Regions from separate parts of the Homo sapiens genome. Here all the other regions are linked to region 1. The links are contacts of gene promoters, found by promoter capture Hi-C in human tissues and cell types (Jung and others, 2019). All regions are on one chromosome and are shown on one strand. Each heading gives the region's core, a stretch centred on a gene start or on the middle of the fragment in contact. The rest is flanking DNA. Distances are from core to core; before and after follow the strand shown. Region 1 holds the start of CYTH3 (cytohesin 3). Region 2 has its middle 47 kb from the start of OCM. Region 3 has its middle 25 kb from the start of OCM.

Evidence for each region. The method cuts DNA at HindIII sites, captures the fragments that hold promoters and counts their contacts. A contact is called where the count stands out against the background at its distance.
Region 2: a fragment that was not itself captured here is called in contact with the fragment with the promoter of CYTH3 in region 1 in 1 of the 25 tissues and cell types used here (spleen).
Region 3: a contact is called between a fragment that was not itself captured here and the fragment with the promoter of CYTH3 in region 1, in 1 of the 25 tissues and cell types used here (dorsolateral prefrontal cortex).

Annotation. Positions count from the first base shown.
Region 1 is chr7:6,271,088-6,274,053 of GRCh38, forward strand. CYTH3 (cytohesin 3) reads right to left here and starts at 1,537. Exons shown (of 13, transcript NM_004227.4): 1 at 1,387-1,537. The coding sequence starts at 1,420. RefSeq lists enhancers at 152-874, 875-1,596 and silencers at 915-1,084, 1,405-1,764. The HindIII fragment of the contact is 17,528 bases long and covers 1-2,966 here.
Region 2 is chr7:5,832,330-5,835,295 of GRCh38, forward strand. It overlaps the pseudogene ZNF815P. Among named protein-coding and RNA genes, the nearest start is that of OCM, 47 kb to the right of the region's middle. The HindIII fragment of the contact is 7,853 bases long and covers 1-2,966 here.
Region 3 is chr7:5,854,428-5,857,393 of GRCh38, forward strand. It overlaps the pseudogene ZNF815P. Among named protein-coding and RNA genes, the nearest start is that of OCM, 25 kb to the right of the region's middle. The HindIII fragment of the contact is 4,199 bases long and covers 1-2,966 here.

The sequences.
Region 1 (2,966 bases), core at 287-2,786:
GATCTCATGGCTCCAGACAGCCTGACTGTAGGAGGGTTCGCAACTGGGCGCCTTCGTTCCACAGCGCTCCCATCAACACACCCACTCGGTGCCACAGTGCTACCCCTAGCTTCAACTATAAGAACTGAACTCGCCAAATGCCATGACGGGTGCCAACTTCCCACCATCCTGGCTGCATCGCGTCTTTCAGCAAAAAAACATCTCCCTCTGAGCAGCACTTGAATTCTGGAAGGCACCTTGATGATGAACCACTTCATCCTGAAGCATTCAATACTGCTGATTCTTACAGGCAGCTGCACCGGCAGCCTGTAATTAAGATTTCTCTAAACTGCTCCCTTATTACATGGGGTTCTGATGATTCTGATGATTTCTCTGTCAGCTCAAAGGAGATCTTCAGGAAAAAAAAAAAAAGTCTAGAGAACCTCAACTTCGGCTGTTCCTGTAAAAACACGGGCATTAACCCTTTGCTTTCCAAAGCGAACACCCACTCCATACAGAGGCACGTTCCTCTGTTTTTAAAATCTAATTCCCAGCATGACCCAGCAGTCATTTGTATTCCACTAAATAATTTCCAACAAACACGATTCCTCCAGCAAGAGGAAACCGAACGTCAGACACAGACCACCTGGGCCACGACGCGCATCGACCCGACCCACTCGGGAGCACACCTGGCTCCGGGCACACCTGGCTCTCCGGTCTTGCCTCTGTGCTGGGTGCAGCTCGTGTCTCCCACCCTCGGCTCCACGGAGTTTTTTGCTCAATCTGTCGCGTCTGCCGTTTCCTAAAACGTCTACCCTGAACTGAACTCCAGCTGGCCCCCTCCCCGTTCGAGCAAATCCAGCGACCGTTTCTGACCCAAAGCCAAGCAGACTGTCACGCTTTCCAACCGTTTCCCCTGCCCTCCCGTCCTGTACACTCGAGGAGCCTCCAGTGCAAAACTTTCCCCTCCCGGTTTCCCACCGGCTCAGCCGCTTCCGCCCACCTGAGCTGAAAGGGGGCGTCCGAAACGCCGGGCTCCGGAGGGCATGAACGCCCTTGGCGACAAGATGCGGGGAAGGTCGCCCCGCAAGGTCCCCCGCCCCAGAGGAGCGACACCCAAACCCCGGCCCGAGACTCCGGGGCGACCCCAGCCCGCGGCAGCCCCGGCCTGGTACCCAGACCCTCGCCAGCGCCGAACGGCGACCCCGGCCCGCCCCCTCCCTCGGCCCCCGGAGACCCAGCCTCGGCCCTGGCCCGGCGTGCCTCAGGCCTCCAGCGGACGCCGCTGCCGCTGCCCCCGACCCCGTCTCCTCCGGCGAACCCCGGCCCAGCGCCGCGCCCTCGACCCCCAGCCCCCGGCCCCCGACCCCAGGCCGCCGGCGAGCCCACCACACCTCCGACACTCACCGCCACCACCCTCGCCGCCGCCGTCTTCATCCATCTTGAGGCCACTCCCGCAGCCGGCGAGCCGGGGGCCGGCAGCAGAGGGGCCGCGGGCTGGGGACGCCGCCGGAGGGAGCGCGCAGGCGACCGGGCGGCTCCTCAGCGCGCGGCCCGGGTCGCGGCCGGGCCTCCTCCCGCCGGGCGGGGCCTCGCTGGTCGGCGTGCCGTCACGTGACCCATGCCCCGCCTCTGCCCGCGGTGGGCGGGGCGTGAGGCCGCGCAGCCCCGCCCTCGGGAACCGGCCGGGCCGGCGGCGTCTGCGCTGGGGAAGGCTGTAGACCTGGCCCCTGAAGTGCAGGCCGATCCGGTGTGCGTGGAGCGAAGCCTCCTCGCCCTCAGCATTCCAGTAGCCTGCGGACGGGCGTGGGGCCCCGGACACTGGAACGCCACACTCTGCAAAACCCAGTGGCCAGGGGTGCAACTTGCACGTGCACTCGGGGTAAAAGATCAAGAAACGAATGCATTCAGAAGTCAGGCCTGGCCAGGCTCGGTGGCTCACACCTGTATTCCAATACTTTGAGAGGCTGAGGTGGGAGGATCGCTGGAGAACAAAAGTTGGAGACCAGCCCCGATAACATAGCGACCCAGGCATGGTGGCATGTGCCTGTAGTTCCAGCTACTGGGGAGGCTGAGGTGGGAGGTCACGTCACTTGAGCCCAGTAGGTAGAGGCTGCAGTGAGTTATTATTGCACCACTGCACTCCAGTCTGGGTGACAGAGTGAGACCCTGTCTCAAAAAAAAAAAGAACAAGGTCAGGCCTTCTCCTTCCTAAGACATGCATGTCAGAAGAATTCCAGCCTTTCAGCTGTCTTATATTTAATGGAGCCTCTCCTCCTTCCCTCCTGGTGAGTGCATTTTTAAATTAACAAAATGCAGGGCTTGTAAATGAATGTGGTCATGAGGTTGGAACGGAATCCCGATTCAACACACCTGGGGCTCAGCTCTCAAAGGGCATTGTAGGGGTTGGCCAATCTGGCGGCTGATGCCCTTGGAGTTTAGCGCCAGTCTTCCTTGGAGAGCTGCCAGCTGTCCTGGATTTATGATGCAGGAGGAGCTCTGAATTCAGTTTCCCTTGGGCACAGCCAGGGTCCTCAGCACAGGCCTCCTGGGCAGAAGGCCTCCCCTGGCCCCTGCTCCACATCGATGGATCTCCTCTCTCACTCCCCATATCTCTCTTCCAGTAACTCCTGAAGCATTGCTTGTGGCCCCTCCCAAGCCTTTCTGTTGGAACTCAATCGCATTAAAGAAAAGCAAACATTGTAATGGAGGAGATAGCTCATCTCTAATATAATTTTCCAGCAACTGTTTTATATTTACAAGCTGTCCATTGAACCAAAGGATCCTTCCGTTGTCATCTATCAAAGTGGACAATTTCACCTTTTGGTTCAAGGTTGCGGGATGATTTCAAAGTTCAATCTTCTAATAACCTCAAGAATTGAACACCAAGCATTCTCATGCAACCAAACCCACGAGGGACACTTTTTTTTTGAGACAGGGTCTCGCTCTATTGCCCAGTCTGGCATGCAGTGTCTCGAGTGATCCTC
Region 2 (2,966 bases), core at 149-2,648, 440 kb before region 1:
GAGCAACATAGCGGGACCCTGACTCTACAAAAAGCATATATATATATATATGTTTTGAGTTTTTAGACGGAGTCTCACTCTGTTGCCCAGGCTGGAGTATAGTGGCGCAATCACAGCTCACTGCCACCTCCACCTCCGAGGCTCAAGCGATTCTCCTGCCTCAGCCTCCCAAGTAGCTAGGATTACAGGGACAAGTCACAGGAAGCCAAGATTGTGCCGTACCACTGCACTCTAGCCTGGGCAACAGAGCCAGACCCCATCCCCCAAAAAGTTTTCTTATCATTTTTTGGGGGGATGCAAGCTCGCTTTGTTGCCCAGGCTGGAGTGCAGTGGTACAGCACAATCTCGGCTCCCTGTGATCTCTGCCTCCCAAGTTCAAGAGATTCTCCTGCCTCAGCCTCTTGAGTAGCTGGGATTACAGGCATGTGCCACCACACCTGGCTGATTTTTGTATTTTAGTAGAGATGGGGTTTCACCATATTGGCCAAGCGGGTCTTGAACTCCTGACCTTAGGTGATGCACCTGCCTCGGCCTCCCAAAGTGTGGTGATTACAGGCGTGAGCCTCTGCATCTGGCCTGTTTCTTCAGAATAGATTTCTAATAATTACATTTTTGGGTAATGGGTGGGGATTGTAGTAAATTGCACATTGGTTACTGAGACATAGATACACATATTCATTAAGAAAAACTCCAGTCAGTCGTGGTGGTTCACCCCTGTAATCCCAAGGTTTTGGGAGGCTGAGATGGGCAGATTGCTTGAACCCAGGAGTTTGAGACCAGCCTGTGCAATACAGTGAGACCGCCTTCTCTACCAAAAAATTTAAAAATTAGCTGGGCGTGTGACACACCTATAGTCCCAGCTTCTCGGGAGGCTGAGGTGGGAGGATCGCTGGAGCCTGGGAGTCCAGGGCTGCATTGAGTTCTGATTGCATCGCTGCATTCCAGCCTGGGTGACAGAGTGAAACCCTGTCTCAAAAAACAAAACAAAAATCCAAGTCAGGCCTCATGAGATTGAGTCCCTATGACATTTCCAAGGTGAGGGCTTTGCTCTGATAATGGGGATCCTTCAGAGAAGGCTTTCTCCCACCTGTGCCCGCGAGGCGGGGGGTGGGGGTGGTCTCAGCAGTTGATCGGGAGCCCACGGGCAAGCGTGGCCTCTCATATCCTCTCTCCCCACTCTGATGTCTGCCTTCACAGATACCTGCTTTCCCACAACAGCAAGGAAGAACCATGGCCCAGGTGAGTGTGGCATTTCTTTCTACTGCACTTTTTCAGCAGGGATTTTGGATGCTCATAAGAACATGACTAATAAAGGCTGGGTGTGGTGGCTCACACTGGTAATCCCAGCACTGTGGGAAGCCAAAGCGGGTGGATCACTTGAGGTCAGGAGTTTGAGACCAACCTGGCCAATGTGGTGAAACCTTGTCTCTACTAAAAATACAAAATTAGATGGGTGTGGTGGTGGGTGCCTGTAATCCCAGCTACTTGGGAGGCTGAGGCAGGAGAACCACTTGAACCTGGGAGGTGGAGATTGCAGTGAGCTGAGATCATACCACTGCACTTCAGCCTGGGTGACAGAGTGAGACTCTGTCTCAAAAAAAAAAAAAAAATCTGATAAAATGCAAACAGAAGTCAGGATCAGTGAAAACAGGAAGAGAATGGAAGGTCACGGCTGTGGGAAGGACAGGGTGGAGAGACTGTAGAGGCTGCTGCAGTTGTGAGATGCCTTGTAAATTCTTTTTTGAGACAGAGTCTGGCTCTATCATCTAGGCTGGAGTGCAGTGGCATAATCTCGGCCCACTGCAACCTCTGCCTCCTGGGTTCAAGCAATTCTCCTGCCTCAGCCTCCTTACAGGCACCTGCTTACAGGCACCTGCTACCACACACAGCTAATTTTTGTATTTTTAGTAAAGATGAGGTTTCACCACGTTGGCCAGGCTGGTCTCAAACTCCTGGCTTCAAGTGATCTGCCCACCTCGGCCTCCCAAAGTACTGGGATTACAGGCGTGAGCCACTGTGCCCAGCCCGATGCCTTGTAAATTTATATCTGACATTCCTGTCACTTAAAAAAGGCAGGCAGATTCCATCTAATATATGACTTGTGTTGTCTGTTTTGGACAACCGTGTCTAATTCTCGGGGGGAATACAGCTCTTTCAAGATTTAAAGATGTATTTGATCTTTGTATGTAAGATGTGGCAGACCCGTTCCTCAATAACAACCACCTTGAAAGAAACACAACAGGAAATCTCTTGTGACTTTTCTTCCTCTCTGTATAAACAGCAGATATTATGCCAAAGCAGCCGTCTGTGATTCTGGTTGTTTGGGGATGCCGAACACTCAGGTCTACAGAGACAGCCTTGTGTGGTGCCAAGTGACCTGGATGTAACACTGCATTATCTAGAGGAACGAATGAATGAACTGCGTGTTCTTGAAACAGCCTGCCATGTGTACCGCCACACCACCCTGAACGTGCCTGATCTTGTCTGAAATTGCTTGCCATAATGGGTTTTATTTTTTTAATTAAAAAATTTTTTTGAGATGGAGTCTTGCTCTGTCGCCCAGGCTGGAGTGCAGTGGCACTATCTTGGTTCACTGCAATCTCTGCCTCCCGGGTTCAAGTGATTCTCCTGCCTCAGCCTCCGGAGTAGCTGGGAATATAGGCATGTGCCACCATGCCCGACTAATTTTTGTATTTTTAGAGATGGAGTTTCATCATATTAGCCAAGCTGGTCTCGAACTCCTGACCTCAGGTGATCCGCCCACTTGGCTGTTAGCTCTCTTTGCATGTGAGTGACATCAGTGTTTTCCATCAGCCTGGAAGCATTCTCCTCCTCCTGCTCTGAACCCCGGGTTCTAGGAATGTGTGAGTGTGGAGTGCACTGGTTAGAAGTTCTAATCCTTGAAGTTGGAAGAGCCAGAAATCCAACTAGAAGTAGGTTAGGATTAAAAAAAAAAAAAGTAATTC
Region 3 (2,966 bases), core at 129-2,628, 420 kb before region 1:
CTTGGGCGAAGATTTGGGTTCTGTGGACTGATGTTATTTTATTTTGTTATTTCATTTTATTTATTTTAATTTTAATTTTATTTATGTTATTTTATTTTATGTTTTACTTGAGACAGGATCTCACTCTGTTACCCAGGCTGGAGTGCAGTGGTGTGATCACAGCTCACTGCAGCCTCAAACTCCTGGGATCAAGTGGTCCTCCTGCCTCAGCCTCCCGAGGAGCTGGAACCACAGATGCATGCCACCACGCCCAACTATTTTTTTTTTTTTTTATTTTTGGTAAAGACAGGGTCTTGCTATGTTGCCTCGGCTGGTCTCTAACTCCTAGGCTCAAGCCATCTTCCCACCTCAGACTCCCAAAATGCTAGGGTTGCAGGTGTGAGCCATTAGATGTCGTGATTTAAAACAAAAACCTCTTCTGTGTTTGACACGGGGCCTTTGCACTCGTGCTCTGGCCCTCTGCCGTGGTGCCGCAGTTCTCACTCTGGGATTTTTATTACCTCTGACGTGCCTTCCTGTGGTGACATCTATAGGCAGCTGCATAAATCATGCCCACAAAGAAGGACAAACCGAGGAGCCTGGAGAAGTCAGGGTTCCTCTGGAAATAAATATTCTGTATTCTGTTGCACGCACACATATGTGCCCTTTTCTTTTTTTGAGATGGAGTTTTGCTCTTGTTGTCCAGGCTGGAGTGCAATGGCATGATCTTGGCTCACTGTTATCTCCTCCTCCTGGGTTCAAGCAATTCTCCTGTGTCAGTCTCCTGAGTAGCTGGGATTACAGGCACCCGCCACCATGCCTGGCTAATTTTTTTTGCATTTTTAATAGAGATGGGGGTTTCACCATGTTGGCCAGGCTGGTCTCGAACTCCTGACCTCAAGTGATGCACCCACCTCGGCCTCCCAAAGTGCTGGGATTACAGCCACGATGCTTAGCCCATATTTTCTTATTATCAAAAATCCTAATACTTTATATAGCCTCTAACCCACAATTCCCCTTCCATGAACTTAAAATGTTTACAGAAATTGTGGAGATCTCCCCTTCTTATGGCCAAGATGGATAACCCTTCTTGCCTTAAATACCTACAACTGTACAAAACATAGGAAACAGCAGTTTCTTTTCGTTTTTGAGAAGGGTCTTGCTCTGTTGTATAGGCTGGAGTACAGTGGCAAAATCAGGGCTCATTGCAGCCTCAACTTCCCAGGCTCAAGCGATCCTCCCACCTCTGCCTCCTGAGTAGCTGGAACTACAGGTGTGAGCCAGCATGGCTGGCTAATTTTTATAATTTTTGTAGAGATGGGGTTTCACCGCATTGCCCAGGCTGGTCTTGAACTCCTGAGCTCAAGCCATCTGCTCACCTCAGCCTCCCAAAGTACCGGGATTACAGGTGTGAGCCACCAAAAGCTTTAATTCTTTTTTTTTTTTGAGATGGAGTCTTGCTCTGTCACCCAGGCTGGAGTACAGAGGCACTGTCTCGGCTCACTGCAACTTCTGCCTCCCCAGTTCAAGTGATTCTCCTGCTTCAGCCTCCCAAGTAGCTGGGATTACAGGTGCTCACCACCACGCCTGGCTCATTTTTGTATTTTTAGTACAGATGGGGTTTTGCCGTGTTGGCCAGGCTGGTCTCAAAGTCCTGACCTCAGGTGATCCGCCCACCTCGGCCTCCCAAAGTGCTGGGATAACAGGTATGAGCCACCACACCCGGCCCACTGCTCCCTTTTGACCAATAATTTGGGAATGTGATTTTAAAAAAGCTTTAATTCTTTATATAGCCTCTAACTCACCCTTCCAGGAACTTAAAATGTTTTATTTTTTTCTTGAGACAAGGTCTCACTGTGTCACCCAGACTGGAGTGCAGTGGTGCCAACATGGCTCACTGCAGCCTGGATCTCCTGGGCTCAGGCAGTCCTCCCACCTCAGCCTCCCGAGTAGCTGAGACTATAGGCGCACATTGTCATGCTCGGCTACTTTTAGTATTTTTATTTTCTTGGAGAGATTGGGGTCTTGCTGTGTTGCCCGAGCTGGGTTCGAACTCCTGGTCTCAAGCAGTCTTCCCCCTTCAGACTCCCAAAATGTTGTAAAAATTGTGGAGACTTCCCCAACTTATGGCCAAGATGGATTAACCCTCTTGCCTTAAATACCTAGAAAACCGTACAACACATACGCAAAGGCAGTTTTTAGACACCGGTCAATAGGTGGCACTAAAGACCATGATCTCCGTTAGGGGAGAAACCAATGAGGCAAAGTGTTTCCAGCTGCCGCGGGAGGAGGGCAGCCGGGCAGAGCCCAGTGTTCTCCCTGAGTGCAGGAGACAGAGCTGAAAGTGTGAGCAGGCCTGGCCAGGTGCGGTGGTTCACGCCTATAATCCTAGCACTTTGGGAGGCCGAGGTGGGTGGGTCACTTGAGGTCAGGAGTTCGAGACCAGCCTGGCCAACATGGTGAAACCCTGTCTCTACTAAAAATACAAAAAATTTAGCTGGGCGTGGTGGTGCATGCTTGTAATCCCAGCTAGTCAGGCGGCTGAAGCATGAGAATCACTTGAACCTGGGAGGTGGAGGTTGCAGTGAGCCGAGATCGCGCCACTGCCCTCCAGCCTGGGCCAGAAAGCGAGACTCTGTCTCTAAAAAAAAAAAAAAAAAAAGTTTGAGCAGGCCAAAGCAGCTGGAATTTGCAGGATGGAATCCTGCGGGAGAGATATGCAAAAAAACCCAAATTCTGCAGCTTTGCAAAGGAAACCTCTTGACTCTGAAGCTGAGTGGGATCACCTCACACATGGAGGAAATTACCCGAGCAAGACTAGGGGAAGGAATCACACAATAGAAACAGGCAGAATAATTCCAAAGTCCACAAAAAGCTGGGAACCGTTCGTGTTTCCAGCAGGCAAAGTGAAAAACCTCATAATACCTGGGGCATTGAATCAAGTGTTCAGAGGGGCGTTGCCTTCGTGGTGCGGCAGAATTGGCCCT